Regions from separate parts of the Homo sapiens genome. Here region 2 is linked to region 1. The links are contacts of gene promoters, found by promoter capture Hi-C in blood cells and fetal thymus (Javierre and others, 2016). All regions are on one chromosome and are shown on one strand. Each heading gives the region's core, a stretch centred on a gene start or on the middle of the fragment in contact. The rest is flanking DNA. Distances are from core to core; before and after follow the strand shown. Region 1 holds the start of TMEM164 (transmembrane protein 164). Region 2 has its middle 15 kb from the start of NXT2.

Region 1 (7,164 bases), core at 1,637-4,136:
TGTATAAAACCAAGCTGTAATCCGACCACCTCGGGCACAGGATCTCAGGACCTTCTGAGGCTGTGTCACATGTCATGGTCCTCACATTTGGTGCAGAATAAATCTCAAATATTTTACAGAGTTTGGCTTTTTTCTTCAACATGCCTGTGAAAAAGGAATTTATGGCTCAATTTAGAAAACTGGCCTGGCTACAGTCATTATTAACCATAGTCATTGTTGCAAACTCGGGACAGTCTAGGCCAAATTCTCAACAGAAGCTCAGCATGGAAATTGGAGGGATTACTGAAGCCATTGGCTAAGTGCTATATCCTAATTCTTGCTTCCTTGAAGATAGCAACTTGAGGTTTTGGGATGCTGTATTCCATTGCTAGGTGCTCCCCAGCTTTGTCCTTAATGTTCCTTGGTTATGTTGCTGAGGATTTAACAAAACACTTAAGGAGAATGAACTAGTGAGCCTCTGAATCAAGCCTTGTTTGTTGTTGTTTATTAATTGGCACTTGTATTACTGGAAAGTGGTCTGGATGCAGACCCCAAGAGAGGGTTCTTGGACCTCTAGCAAGAATTCGGGGCAAGAAAGAATTTGGAGTAAAGTCAAAGCAAGTCTATTAAGAAAGTAAAGGAATAAAGAATGGCTACTCCATAGGCAGAGTAGCAGCTTGGGCTGCTCAACTGATAATTCTTATGGTTATTTCTTGATTATATGCTAAACAAGGGGTGGATTATTCATGAGTTTTCTGGGAAAGGGGTGGGCAATTCTCAGAACTGAGGGTTCCTCCCCCTTTCAGACCATATAGGGTAACTTCTGGACGCTGGTGGGAGTGACTTTTAGCATGCTAATGCGTTATAATTTGCATATAATGAGCAGTGGGGACGACCAGAGGTAACTGTCATCACCTTTTTGGTTTTAGTGGGGTTTGGCCGGCTTCTTTACTGCATCCTGTTTTATCAGCAAGGTCTTTGTGACCTATAATCTTGTGCCGACCTCCTATCTCATCCCGTGACTTGGAATGCCTAACTTTTTGGGAATGCAGCTCAGTAGGTCTCAGCGTCATTTTATCCAGGCCCTGTTCAAGATGGAGTCGCTCTGGTTCTAACGCCTCTGACACTTGGAGAACATCAGGCCTATGGTAGATGTTGTACAAAACTTGGAGTCAGACAAGGCTACCTGGCTGTACTTGTTCGGAAAACCAGACTTGGAAAAAACGGGAGGGCGATGGCCTGATAATACAGTAGATTGCATTTTATGTTTTGAGCCTGGCTTGCAGCCAACATCCAAAAGTGTTTCCTAGGCAAGGTGCCTAACTGTGTTTTTCTGGATATTCTTCTAACTCATCGTGAGTCTTCAATAAATATTAAATAAACATGAGGAAGGTCCTGAGAAGGTCCTTTTACTGACCCTTGTCTCAAGAAAAGCAAATAGCCGATCGGTAAAAAGCAGCAGGTAGGAAGAGGGGATTTTATTTCCGTCAGTTGCCCTTATCCAGGTTTTGGGCTTAGTGCTGCTCCTCCACACTCATATAGTCCTGGCTGGCTTTTCCACGCATAGGTTAGGAAGCAACTGCTCTGGGGAGGGGGAAGGGGGGAAGAGGGGGAGGGAAAGAGGTCACGGGAAGCCTCCCTTCCTCCCACTGGCCTACCATTGAAGGCCTGTCAGGAGAAAGGAGAGAAGTGGGAGAGGGAGAGGGTGTGGCAGGGGTGGTCTGTGTGGCAAGAGGTAGAGAGAAAATAGTGGATCAGAGCAGGAGGGGGAGGAGCAGGGAAATGAAGCTCCTGTCCTAGGCACTGAAGTGTGGAGTGGGGCTGTGGCTAGAAAGGGGAGAGAAGATGCCTTTCTGGCCTTGCATGAGTCGTGGCAGAAAGGAGGAATCGCGAAGAGGAGCCGGCCATACCCAGCACACACCCCGAAGCCAAGCTGCTCATTACTAGAAAGGCTTATTCCCCCACAAGAAGTTAGTGCGGGCCAGCTAAGTGCCTACTATGTGTGCAGTATAGAAAGAAGTGCCCTGGAGAACCAGGTCGCGGGAGGCGGAGCCAGTCAACAGGGCTTCACCGAGGGGGCGAATTCTGTACACGGTTGTGAAGGAGGGTGGCTGTGCACGCGTGCAGGCTCCGAGTGCAGAAGACGAGGCAGGCCAGGGAGGAGGCGGAAGGAGGCGGAGCCTGAGCCGGAGGAGGGAGGAGGAGGGAGGAGGAGGAGGGAGAGCCGAAGCCGCGGAGGGTGGGAGGTGTGAATGGTGGACGGGTGAGGGGAGTGCCAGAGGCAGAAAAGGGAAGGAGGCGAGGAGGAGTAGTCGTGGCCCGAGGGCGTGTGGTGGGGCGAGAGCTGAACTGGACGGGAGGAGGGAGGCAGTGGCGGTGGCAGCGGGGAGGGGGAGGAGAGAGGGAGGGGAAGAAGGAGGAAGCGAGCGCGGCTGCTGCAGGGGGAGGAAGACGGGGAGGAGGAGCCGTGCGCCGCGGCGGCGGCCGCCAGGGGAACCGAGCGCCCGGCGCGGAGAGCGCGGGAGCGGAGCAGTAGCCCGATCCGGGGCCGCGGGCCGAGCTGCCGGTGAGTGAAGCCCCGAGGGGCGCGGCGGCCGGTCCCCGGGGCTGGGCGGGAGGCGCGGGAGGTTGCGGCGCCGGGGAGGAGGGAGGGGGGCCGGCTTTAGTCCAGGGGCCGGCTTTAGTCCAGCCCCCGGCTGGCCCGGCCTCCCGCCTTCCCTCTGGCTTCCTCCCTCCGCTGCCTGCGCGAGGGGGGCAGGTCCCGGGCGGGCCGCGGGCTGGGGGTGGTGCTGCCCGGAGGGCGGGCGTCTAGGGCCGGAGGGTGGAGCTGGGGGTTCGGGGGTGTACCCGGGGGCGGGAGGCTGGACAAGGACGGCTCTAAATTGGCTGGAGGGGCCCGTCGGCGGCGAAGTTGCTAGCTGGGGGCAGAGACGGCCACGCGGTTGCAGGAGTAAGAGATCCCTCTGTGGCGAGTGCGTGAGACGAGGAGTCCGGCGTCCCTGCCATCCCCGTCGCCCTCCCCGCCTGCTCGGCCCCGCTAGCTCCTCTCCTTGCCTCCGCGTGTCCCCTAGCTCTGACCCCTTTTGGCTCCCGGTTCGCTGCCGCAGCACTGCCGGGTCTCCTTGGCCCCCGCCCTGACCCTTTCGGCCTCCGGCTTCCCCTGACCCCTGCTTGCTTCGCCACTGCCCCGTTCCCGTTTTCTTCCCTCGCTAGTTACCCCTCCCGCTTCCTAATTCCCGGTGCAATTGCCTCTTTGAGACCTCTTTTTTTTTTTTTTCCTCTCCTTCCTTTTAGATTGGCCAACGGCTCCTTTCAACCCTGCCTCGTTGGTGGCCACTGGAGAAGCGCGGGGGGCTCCCCCAGACAGCCGTGGGGACAAGTTAGAGCCAGCACTTTACCCCGGGCCTTGCGTGTAGCTTCCCCTCCCCTACTCTCGGTGCCCTGGTGTCTGGAGGGGGGTTGTGGGGGTGTGCCCGCCTTACATGGTCCACCACCCGGGCAACCCTCTGGGCTTGTGTTCCATCTCACTCTTGCTTCCTGTACTGTGGTCAAGGGGAACCACTGCATCATGTCCCGGTATAGCTACCAGAGTCTCCTGGACTGGCTCTATGGGGGCGTGGACCCCAGTTTTGCAGGCAATGGGGGCCCCGACTGTGCTGCCTTCCTCTCTTGGCAGCAGCGGCTGCTGGAAAGTGTGGTGGTCCTGACCCTGGCTCTGTTGGAGATCCTGGTGGCCCTGCGGCACATCCTGAGGCAGACGAAGGAGGACGGTAGGGGTAGCCCTGGCAGCCAGCCAGAGCAGGTGACCCAGCGGCCAGAGGAAGGCAAGGAGAGCCTGAGCAAGAATCTGCTCTTAGTAGCCCTGTGCCTGACCTTCGGGGTGGAGGTGGGCTTTAAGTTCGCCACCAAGACCGTCATCTACCTGCTCAACCCCTGTCACCTGGTCACCATGATGCATGTGAGTCTGTTGACTTTTTCCTGGGCATCCTAAGTGATAAGAGTCATTTATGTGCTCAGGACACTCCATAGTGTACAGCACCTCATCCCGGCGGGCAGGGGGACCTTTAAAAATGATTTTCCAACGAGTGGCTGCCTTTGTGCCGATTTCAGGTTTGGCTTTCTTTCACCTTTGCACAGTGCGTCAGCCCCACAGTGGAGGTGAGGAACCTTGTGCCTGAACCCTAGGAACGACTGGCACTCACCCTGGCTGCCCCTCCCTTCCAGCCCAGCCCAACCCTGCCGTGCCCTGGGCTTTCACAAGCAGGAATTCCAGCCCCAGCCAGGTGCCCTTTCTGAATCACATCAGTGGACCATGACCCAGCTCCCTTGCCTTCTGTGGTAGTTAATTTCCCAGGGGCCTGGTGACACTCTTTCCTGGAGGTGGTCGCATAAACTTTCTCATCTACACTGTGGTACTTTGGGGAAATACTTTTACAGGTTTCTCTTAATGACTCTTTCATTTGGGAGTGTATGCTCTTAGAGTGAGGTCTGCCTTTGCATTTTGAGGCATTGGAGCAGCACCAAGCTCCTACTAAATGAGTTCTGAAGCAGGTCCCCAGGCTGACATGTGTACTTTGGGCTGGTGATCACTATGGTGAGAGGGTATTTCTTTTTTTGCAAACCTCTCCATCCTATTACTGTCATTCTGTCTCCTATGGTCATAGTCCAAGGGTGCTTAGGAAGCTGATTTCTTTACCTCATCGACTTCCACCCATTAGCGGTGCTAAGGAAAACAAATGGGATTGAAAAGGCAAGTTGCCAGATACATAAAAATAATCTGGGTGAGGACCAAGAGTGAGACTGTCTGTATTCAGCCTGTGTGGAGAGATGTTCTAAAGCTATAAAATCATGGAGGAGGAGGAAGAGGAGACTGGGAGAGCAATCAGTCTTTTTTAGATTTCAGGCTGTGGAAAACCGGGTGTGTTTTATTCAGGGGCAGTTTTGAAACCTGTCATTAGCATCTTTACTGCCTTTATGTTTGTAGAAGGTTATTCTTTGGAGACTTGTGACAGCCTAGCTTGGGGCAGGAGGTTGAGATTATTATCTCCATTTTACAGGCCTGGAGGGGTTTAGGAATGGCAGGTCATTTGCTTGCAGCCAGAAGATGAATTAGTGCCTGGGTTAGAAAGCAAACTCATCCACCTTGAGGTTGCAAGCTGTCAACCCCAAAGTGAGGGTGGCAGTGGGTGGTGGGGCAGTCCTGTGGGAAGACTCAGGCAGATGAGCACCACACTGTCTACCCATGGCTTGGATACTTGCTTGCACTGTGTTCCTAGGAACTCATTTGATTGCAGGCTTCTGGATGTGGTGAATGACCCCAGCCCCTTCCCTTCTTGCAGATATGGTAAGAAGGTATGGATAACTTTGGAATAAAGTGGCTGTTTTTGATTGGGTGGCTGTAAGCATCGGGGCTGGAGTGGGCAGCATTTTTTAAGAGAGGGCTTCTTGGGAAGTGATGCCATTCACAGGAAGTCCAGGGCTGTCCCAGCTAGACCTTCTGTGTAAATTTGAGCCAGTCTTCTTTCTTTCTTTTTTTATGAATGGGCTTTTTGTTAATGATAGGAAACAACGCATCTCAGCCGATGCTGTGTGAGGCTGTCGGGACAGGAGTGCTTTTTTAGGATGGCAGGTGGTGAGGGTCAAAGGGTGCATCTTCTACAAAGTGGTCTTGAGGCCTCTGGCAATCACATATCTAGAAGGTCGACAAAGGACTAAATTCAGCCTGACTGGAGCTGCGGCTGATGTGATGACGTCAAGACTGGCAACACCATGGTTTTTAGAAGCAAGATTTTTAGAGGCTCTCAGAAGACTCTGGAGACCTAGTGCTAGCATTAATTCATTGTATGACTTTGGAGAAAGTACTCTTCCTGGGCCTCAGTTTGCCTACCTTGTGAAATGAGGCAGAGTTGCCCTCCTAGCTCTTGACAGTCTATGTGATTCTTGTCTCCATAAGTCGTAGATGGGTATGCAACAGAGAGCTATTCTGAAATGCTTTTGACCTCCTGTGTGGAAAAAAAGGAAGCTAGTTTCTTCTCTGTGGAAGTCAGGTGGCCAGTTCCCATTCATTGTTTTCTCCCTGTGTCTTCCCAGTAAAGTAAACTCAACTGGGCCATGCTTGGGAACTCATGCAGAGGATGATGGCACTTTAGGACTCTGAAGCCTTAGGATGGGGGCATGGAACAGAGCCATGCCGAGGAGTTCTTGAGCTCCATCAGAATTATGCTTCTTTGCCCTTTTCCCCTAAATCACTGCTTTGTATCATTTAAATAGTAACCCCTGGCATACCAGGAGACCTAGCCTCTGATTAATCCAACTTTCTATACCCTCCATATGGCTTTTCCTGGGAAGCAGGAATGTATGGATTTTTAAAAGTTGATGAGTCCTAAAAAAAAAAAAATTAACAGCAGATGGTTGGAAATAATTTTCTGTCTTGGTTGCAGCAATGACCAATGATAGTATGTATACCCAGAATACCATAATACCTTGCATTTATCTAACAATTACTGTTTATAAGATACTTTCATATACATTGTTACTTTTAGCTTAGGCCTGGAGAAAGGGATGTTAAAATGTTTCCTGCAACAGTGTATATTCCAAAGAGGAGATACTATGTACAAAGAAATGTTTGGCAAGTGAACTAGCTGAATTAGGCTATGTTGTAGTGGCAAATTCTGTGGAATTTAGAAGTCCTAGCAAGGAAAGAGAGATATTAGCTGAAGTGAAAGGGATAGCTTAGCAGAGACATGTCTGATATGTGTCTCTCAACAGGATGACTCAGTTTTGGCTTTATAAAAAGGCCTTCTTCCTCAGAGAGTCAGTGTAAGTTTGTAACAAGGGAGGTATTGCTTTAGGCCAGGAAATAGATAAGTTGGAGGGAAATTGGTTAGTCTCCGCATCTCTCATTTTTCAGTCTGCAACATATTCATTCCCAAGGCCTTGTTACACAGGCTCTCATCATAGCCATGCTGCCTTTGAGTGACTGCCAACTGTAGTAGCATAAGGAAGGGCAGTACTTGTGTCCAAGTTCTGTTATTGATTAATATTCGTCCTGTCAGATTTCATTTTGGCCTTGTCTGATTTCTCAAACGTGTCCTGGGACTGTAGACTGATACAGGCATGTATGGTTGACCTAGCACTGTCTCACAGCTAAGCCTCCAGCCAGAGATATTTGAGTGTTCTCAAGAT
Region 2 (7,610 bases), core at 2,536-5,035, 450 kb before region 1:
AATGGCATCTTAGGAGTTTTGCCTAGATAAAAATGGCTAGGAATCTACTTAGGTCTAAATTTGTAGGCGTTAGTGGAAGTAAAAGGCTGTAAGCTTACAAGACTAATAATTCATGACTCAAACAAATTCTGTCACCATGCCATTTGTATTTCTTGAGTAGCCCATATGGCTGTAAGAGCCACAGATTCCTCAGTGAATTTGAGTCATGGTAACATTTTCATACTTTTTGGAAATCACCTAGTAATGTATAGTGTATCTATAAAGATAGCCCCAGTAAGGTTCAAGGATAAGCACAGTGTTTGGAAAAGGAGCAGGAAGTCAAAAGCCAAGAAGGTACTGTGAATTCTTTTCTGAAATTTTGATGAATTCACTATTTGCCTGAAATTGGGCAGGAAATTTGGTAGAAGGGGATTCCATTTACTGATTTTTGTTATAAGCCTGTGTTGTCCTTCCTGTCCTATGTGTGCTTTAACATAACCACACATATTTAGGGGAAAATGGTAAGGCATTTTTGGCTTTTTGATTTTGTAGTTGGCTCTGTATAATAAAAGTATTTCATCGAAACACTTTTTTCCAAACTGCTGTATTCTATTAATAAATGCTTACCTTTTGCCAAATGCAGCTTTCTTTACAAAAGAGTTCTCAGTGACTCTCAGTCAGCTATGTAGGTCAGTCTAGCTTTCTAGGGAAGCAGTAAAAGGTAGAAAAATGTATTGTTGGAATAATGTGTCAGATGGAGGGGTCTTAGGACACAACATAAATCTGGGATTGTGGTATATGCATTCTTTAGAGAGAGAGCTTTCAAAATTTTCACTATGACCCACAGTGAGAAGTATATTTTACATCACAACCCGGTATACAGATGCACAAGTAAACCTATATATGTGGGTGTATGTGTGTGTGTGTGTGTGTGTGTGTGTGTGTGTATAATGTCCAAAATAAAACTCACGTTTACCACTTGCAGTGTGGTCCTTGCATTTTCTATTTCATTCTATTATTTTTTTTAAATGCTGGTCATAAGTTGCTCAACTGATTTTTTTACAACTTCCTAACGGGTTGTACCATCAGTTTGAAAAACACAAAAATAGATCAAGCATATTTTCACTATCACTTTTGAGTAGGGGTATAGGGCTGGCTTCCAATAGGTAGTGCCATATATCAATGATGTCACCCTGACTTAGAAGTGACCAAAAACTTCTTTCTCTTCTCAGGTTTTTCATATTTGTTGAGGGCCATGAAGGGCAGCAGTGTTTGCCTCCCGTTCTTTGGTTTGCACGAGAAGTTCAGAGCTAAGAAAGCAAATGTTTACATAGTCTTTAGGCAGAGTCTGGGAATAGAATGAGCGGCAATGAAAAGGAGTTGAAATGGAAGGAACTGTGCTATTTCAGGTGTCCAAGGAAAGAAGTGAGAAGGCTTTCTAGCAGGACCACTTTTGAACATGATCTGATATTATGTAAGCTGTATTTTGATAAATTTTAAATTTCATGTGTTTTTTTCCTTTTCCTCCCTCCTTGAACACCCCAAACATCTACATATCAACTCCCCTTGTTTGACAAAGGCTGTGGTGGTCTCTAAGGTGTAATCCTGGTCCCAGACCCAAAGAAGACCTGTGTTCTAAGGCTGTTCTGCCCCTAATGTGTTTTGTGACTTTGCACAATTCACTTACTCTGGGCCTCTCTCTTCAGCTATTGAATGGAAATACTATTTGTCCTATCTGGCCCACCAAGTGGTTGTGAGAATCAAATAAGGCAACAAACGAAAATATTTAAGTGCCACGTGCTACACAAATACAATGGTTATAGTTTTTGGCTTGATGATTGGTTTCCTCCCTTCCAAAAATTCTGGTTTTCTTTAAGGGTAAAATCAATTGAGAGTGACTGTTTCCCGCAGCCAGACACTCATTCTAAACCTTGCCCCTGACTTTACCAGGTAGTTGTTAAACCAGCTCCGCAAAAAAAGTCTAAGATTAGATTTATAGAGATGGTTATTTTACTGTTAAAAAAAAAAAAAAGGATTCAGGGCCCTAAAGGAAACGATAGTAATTTTGCAAATGTATTTTCAAGTAGTCTTTCTGTAACTAGAAAAACAAAATTGACTGTAACATTATTCATTCCAATTCTCTTGCTCAACGGCAAGAAATTGGCAGTAGATGCCTGCAACACTTAACCAAGCCCAGGTACCACGGTCTGACTTGGAAACCTGAGCTGCCTGAGGTAGCCAATAAGCACTTTGTTTTCCTGACTCTTTTTTTTTTTTGAGAGGGGTCTCGCTCTGTCACCCAGGCTGGAGTGCAGTGGCCTGATCTCAGCTCACTGCAAGGTCCACCTCCCAGGTTCGCACCATTCTCCTGCCTCAGCCTCCCGAGTAGCTGGGTCTACAGGCGCCCGCCACTGCGCCCGGCTAATTTTTTGTATTTTTAGTAGAGACAGCGTTTCACCGTGTTAGCCAGGATGGTCTTGATCTACTGACCTCGTGATCTGCCCGCCTCGGCCTCCCAAAGTGCTGGGATTACAGGTGTGAGCCACCGGGCCCGGCCGTTTTCCTGACTCTTTTTTGTTGTTTCTGAAAGAGCCTCTGGAAATGATTTTTCTAAGGTACTAATCCGTCCATCTGTGGCATCCAGGATTCCCAATGGTCTGGGCTCAATCTCAGACCTAATAATTCACTGGCTTTGGATGTTGCTGAGGAGAAAAGACAAGCCTGGGAGAAGGGATGGAAGGAGTAATTAGCTGGGGGAAGGTGAGGGAGAATGGTAGGTAGGGACAGTTGGGAAGATACTGCTTTCCAAACAACTGAAAATAAAAGGAGAGGAAGACGGGAGAGAGAAACTAGGAAAAACAGCCTCCCCAGACAGGTAATTTATAATAACTGGGAGGAAAATGAGAACTGCAGCTAAAAATATGTATACACTCACAAATCCCTGGAAGGCCAGTGGCAAAACTAGGAACTAGGAGACTTCCTACCTCCATGCCCCTTTCTCCCATCCTTCTCAGGCCCTATATTGCTATGCTTCCTAAGGCCCACACTGTGGTAGACTCTAGACCTAGCCTGCCCTCTTTTCAAATCCCTCAGGCCTCACCCTCTCCTTTCGAGCTAAATCTGTTAACTCATTACTTTGGAGGCAATAGGCTTTTATCTTGGGGTTGTTGCATTTTGGCTGGCAGTATCTGGAACAATACCATAACTGAAAGGAATATTTCATTAGTCTTGGTGTCAGAAGCGTTTGAACCATAGCAACTCCATCTTGAGCAGTGGCTGGGTAAAATGAGGCTGAAACCTGCTGGGCTGCATTCCCAGGAGATTAAAGCATTCTAAGTCACAGGATGAGATAGGATGTCAGCACAAGATGTAGGTCATAAAGACCTTGCTGATAAAACAGGTAGCACTAACAAAGGCGGCCAAAACCCACCAAAACCAATATGGTGACAAGAGGAGTAACCTCTGGTCATCCTCATTGCTACACTCCCACTAGCACCATGACAGTTTGCAAATGCCATGGCAACGTCAGGAAGTTACCCTATATAGTCTAAAAAGGGAAAGCATGAATAATCCACTCCTTGTTTAGCATATAATTTTTTTAAACATAAAAATAGGCAACCAGCAGCCCTTGGGGCTGCTCTGCCTATGCAGTAGCCATTCTTTTTATTTCTTTACTTTCTTAATAAACATGCTTTCACTTTACTCTGTGGACTCCCCTCAAAATCTTTCTTGCTCAAGATGCAAGAACCCTCTCTTGGGGTCTGGATCGGGAGCCCTTTCTGGTAACATTTTTCTGGTGAACCCCAAGGGATGATACTGAAGAAACTCGTGACCAAAAGGAAAATCATCTGTGCACACCAATTGGCCGACTTTGGGTAAGTGAGGTGCATATACCTGGGTAAAGGATGGGATTGGGTTAGAGGCCCAACTTAGGGGAGTTAGAGTCTCTCCTAAGACAGAGAGGGTTAAAGGGCCCTCTCAATAAAAGGCAACAACGCTTGACCAAACTTGGGTTGGAGGCCCAATTGAGGAAGGTTAGAGTCCTTCCTAAGATTTAGGAGGTTAGAGGACCCTCTCAGTAAAGGTACTCTCAGCTACGAACAGGTTTGGCACTATGGGATGTTAACGGCTATTCTCTTTGAATTAATCTACCTTGCAGTCTGCTGATGGCTGTGGGTGACAGGATGAGGCATGTATGGGACCATGGGACATGGGGAGCTTTTTTCTCCCTAAAAGGGGAAACTTGAGAGCTAATGGGACTGCTGGAAAAGATCCCTTTGCAACCGACAAGCAGCTGCCTGAACTTTTCAATCACGCTGGGATGGGTGGATCTTTCTTGGGCCTCTGTGAGATGCTCGCCTTCCCCACCCTGCCGCAAGCAATGCTTCTCTCTCTCTCTTTCTCTTTCCTGTCTTTTCTATTACTCAGGGCGACCATCTTGCCCAGAGACCACATGTTGAAAAATGTCCTTGGCAGATTAACCTTGTAACCACATGGCAGTACTTTCTCTTGGTCTCTGCCATCACAATAGCAGCCTGGGTTCAATTCCCAGCTTAGGGAATGAGTACTTTCTGGTTTAATATCTGTGTGACCTTTGCCATTTGTTGGTTCTCTTTCCCTCCACTAACTGTCTTGAGTTTTACTTTCTCAGTGCAACTATTAGGTTACTTTTGGTAAAGTTCAAAAGCCAAAAATATCGGCCGATTGGCTTGGCTAAAAGTTGGGTAATACATTTTAATTTTAAAATTTTAAATTTTAAAAGGACTCTTTTTTTTAGAGTGCTGTGGTTAAAAGTCAGCTTAATTAAAAGCAGATATTCTAGCTCTAATAGGTGGGGACTCAGGAAAAGCAGAGGAGGCACCACAGACCCTGCTTGGGGAAAAACCTCTGTCTTCCTCATGAAACCCCAGGAATTAAAAGTGGATAGATCCCTCTCAAAATCTAAGGCTTTGTTCTGTTTTGCATTGCATTATCTGACATTTTTAACTTTTGGGGGTATCAGAAATTACTTTGCATTATGAGAGACTTTTAGTGTGTAATAACTAGGTAGGAAGTATAGTTTTGGGAGATGGGCTGATTCCCCCTTTTTGGGGATCCAGGATCTGGTATAAAAATGGGACCCTTAATTTGAGGGGATCTGTTTTGCCTTCCAGCTGTGCCTGCTTATTATGCCCTAAAAACTGCATGCTTTCCTGTTTCCTGGCCCTGTTCCTCCAAGGGCTCCATCCTAAGCCAGTAATCCATTTAAGAAACTGGCAAAAGAAAAATCTTACAAGTACTGGATCTTCTTCTGTCTGTGTATTTATATGTGTTATGTCTGTGATATTTATATATGAAAGAGCTTTAATTAATTGGCTTAAAAATAATAAGTTCTTATTTTATCAGAAAAGTAAAAACTGTAATGCCTTTTAGTTCATGTGACCTAAGTAATCTTTGGGCAATAAAAACAGTTTTACATGCAAGGTGTGTAAGGAAAGTGAAATGTGTTTTTGGTAAAAGATTATAAGAAGTCATAGGAATGTGGATTTCTTGCCTAAGTTTAGAGGGCTAAAGGATTGTTTTAAGTTGGGATAAAACTGCAAGTTTGAGCAAGTTGTGGAAGATTTGCAAAAAATTAATTGTAAAAAAAATTCTGTGTGTGAACATATTTCCTAAAATTTAAAAAGGTATTCAATTTTTCCGTAAATTGAACATTGGAATAAGAGCACAACAGGTTTTTCTTAGAGCACTGAACTGCTCTTTCACAAAAATTGTAAAGGGTTATAAAAGGTTTATGATCCACTTTGCTGAGGAGGTGAGGAAAAAAAGTTTGTAGGAATCTTATGTTCAAACTGATTAAGATGGAATAAATTTGTCTACAAGGTTTTATTAAGAATTGGGGTTGACATTAATAGTACACTAGTGCAACAGTGAAATTTGTCTTATTTGGTATAAAAATCCTGCAGGAAGCATTGTCAAATATAAAATGATGTTTGGCTTTCTTTGGGCTGTATTTGTGTAAATATGTTATTGGTATGTGTTCCAAAATTATGAGAAACTCCTATAATTCTAATATGACTTAGTGTATGTTATTAATAATCATCATTGTTATGTAAAATAGTTGTATGCCACAGAAATAACCAAAATTTCCTTGTCAATTGTGGTTTTAATCGTGGCTGTCCTAACTAATAAGACTTTTTGTCATCTACAGACTACTGTCTTGTTTTGGTCCTCTGTAGAAGGTGGTTTTATAATCAACTATAGAACTCTAACAGGTGGTCTTAAATGAAGGTTTCTAATAACTTTGGAGATTGTGACATTAGAATAGCAGAAAAAACTTTCAGGACTCTTATGGAGAGCTGAAATGTTAATGGATATCAAGCAAAACAGGACTTAACTGCATGGACTGAACTAATAGAAGACTGAAGTAATCTTTTTAACTTTTTGCTTAAAACGTTGCTGATCCTTTGTTTTGTTTTTCACAGTCAAGGAAATTTTTCTTTTGAGCTATTAACAGCTTTCAACAATTGAGTAAAATATACTCCTGTGAACAAAATTTGGAGGATATTTGTTTTGCTCTATCTAATTTCTCCAGAATTTGGAAACTAAGTTGTGGGTATTCTTAACTTATGGCAATATACTTATTTGCATAAGTGCAATAAGCATCTGTTTTCATTTACAACAAGACACAATTGGAGATACTGGTTATTTTAGGAAGGCTTTGACTTGAATGATGTGCTTTCCATTAAGGAATCACACTTGACTTATAGAGCCAATCAGGGCCCCTTGGGAAAACTGGCCTCATACCTTGTCTACACAGTCCCTGTGCAGGGTTCCTGACCTGTGGTAAGTTCCTAACCTGTGGTAAGAATGTCACTTTCTGACAGGCCCAGGAGCCCCAAGTTATCTTGGGACCTCAAGAGGAGAGAAATTTACCCAAGTCACAGGTATTTGACAGTACAACCCCATGGCTGGGCTCAGCTTAAAAAAAAAGTCTGATTTGAGATTCCTTCTATGGAACAGAGTTCCATCAAAGCCAATTTTAAAAGCCTATGTGAAAAATAATTATTCTTGCTGCACTTTATACAAATAATCAGGCCAAGTATAATAAAGCAAATCAGTCATACCATGATTTGTCTTTAGTAAAAAATGAGAAACTGGAGAGAGAAAAATTATGTTTCAACAACTGTGGTACACCTGTTTTTAGATTCTAGTCTCATCAGTTGTTTTTAAGGTTTTTTTTCCTGCAATTTAGACTAACCTGCTTATTCCTGTGAACCAACCAGTGATCTCTGGCTGCTGCTCAGAAGAAACAAGAGGGATGGGTAATGTAAAAATCTAGATCAATATTCTAATTCTGGGCACACTGGAATAAGCTAGTGATCCCATATCAGCTTGGTTCCAACAGTTGCTCCGCTCATGGAAAGCCTTCTAATTTAGTTTACTTGGATAATTTTATTTATTTTGCTTTACTGTTGTGCAATACAATGCTGTTATACTCTTTGTGTAGGAATGCAGGATAAGCTTACTCAATATTTTCTTAAGCACTTATTAATCTTCCAGATATCACTTTTGTTGGAACTCAAGAATTATGAATGACCCTCACCATACCAAGGCTTTCTGACTGAGCTCCTTTCTACCCTGAATACAAG

The links. The method cuts DNA at HindIII sites, captures the fragments that hold promoters and counts their contacts. A CHiCAGO score of 5 or more calls a contact.
Region 2: a fragment that was not itself captured here is called in contact with the fragment with the promoter of TMEM164 in region 1 in 1 of 17 cell types (neutrophils); the score reaches 6.7 in neutrophils.

The regions. Positions count from the first base shown.
Region 1 is chrX:110,000,228-110,007,391 of GRCh38, forward strand. It overlaps TMEM164 (transmembrane protein 164), which reads left to right and starts at 2,887. Exons shown (of 7, transcript NM_032227.4): 1 at 2,887-2,951; 2 at 3,274-3,937. The coding sequence starts at 3,548. RefSeq lists a silencer at 2,132-2,991 and an enhancer at 3,094-3,749. The HindIII fragment of the contact is 10,429 bases long and covers 1-7,164 here.
Region 2 is chrX:109,547,693-109,555,302 of GRCh38, forward strand. No RefSeq gene overlaps it. Among named protein-coding and RNA genes, the nearest start is that of NXT2, 15 kb to the left of the region's middle. The HindIII fragment of the contact is 7,389 bases long and covers 92-7,480 here.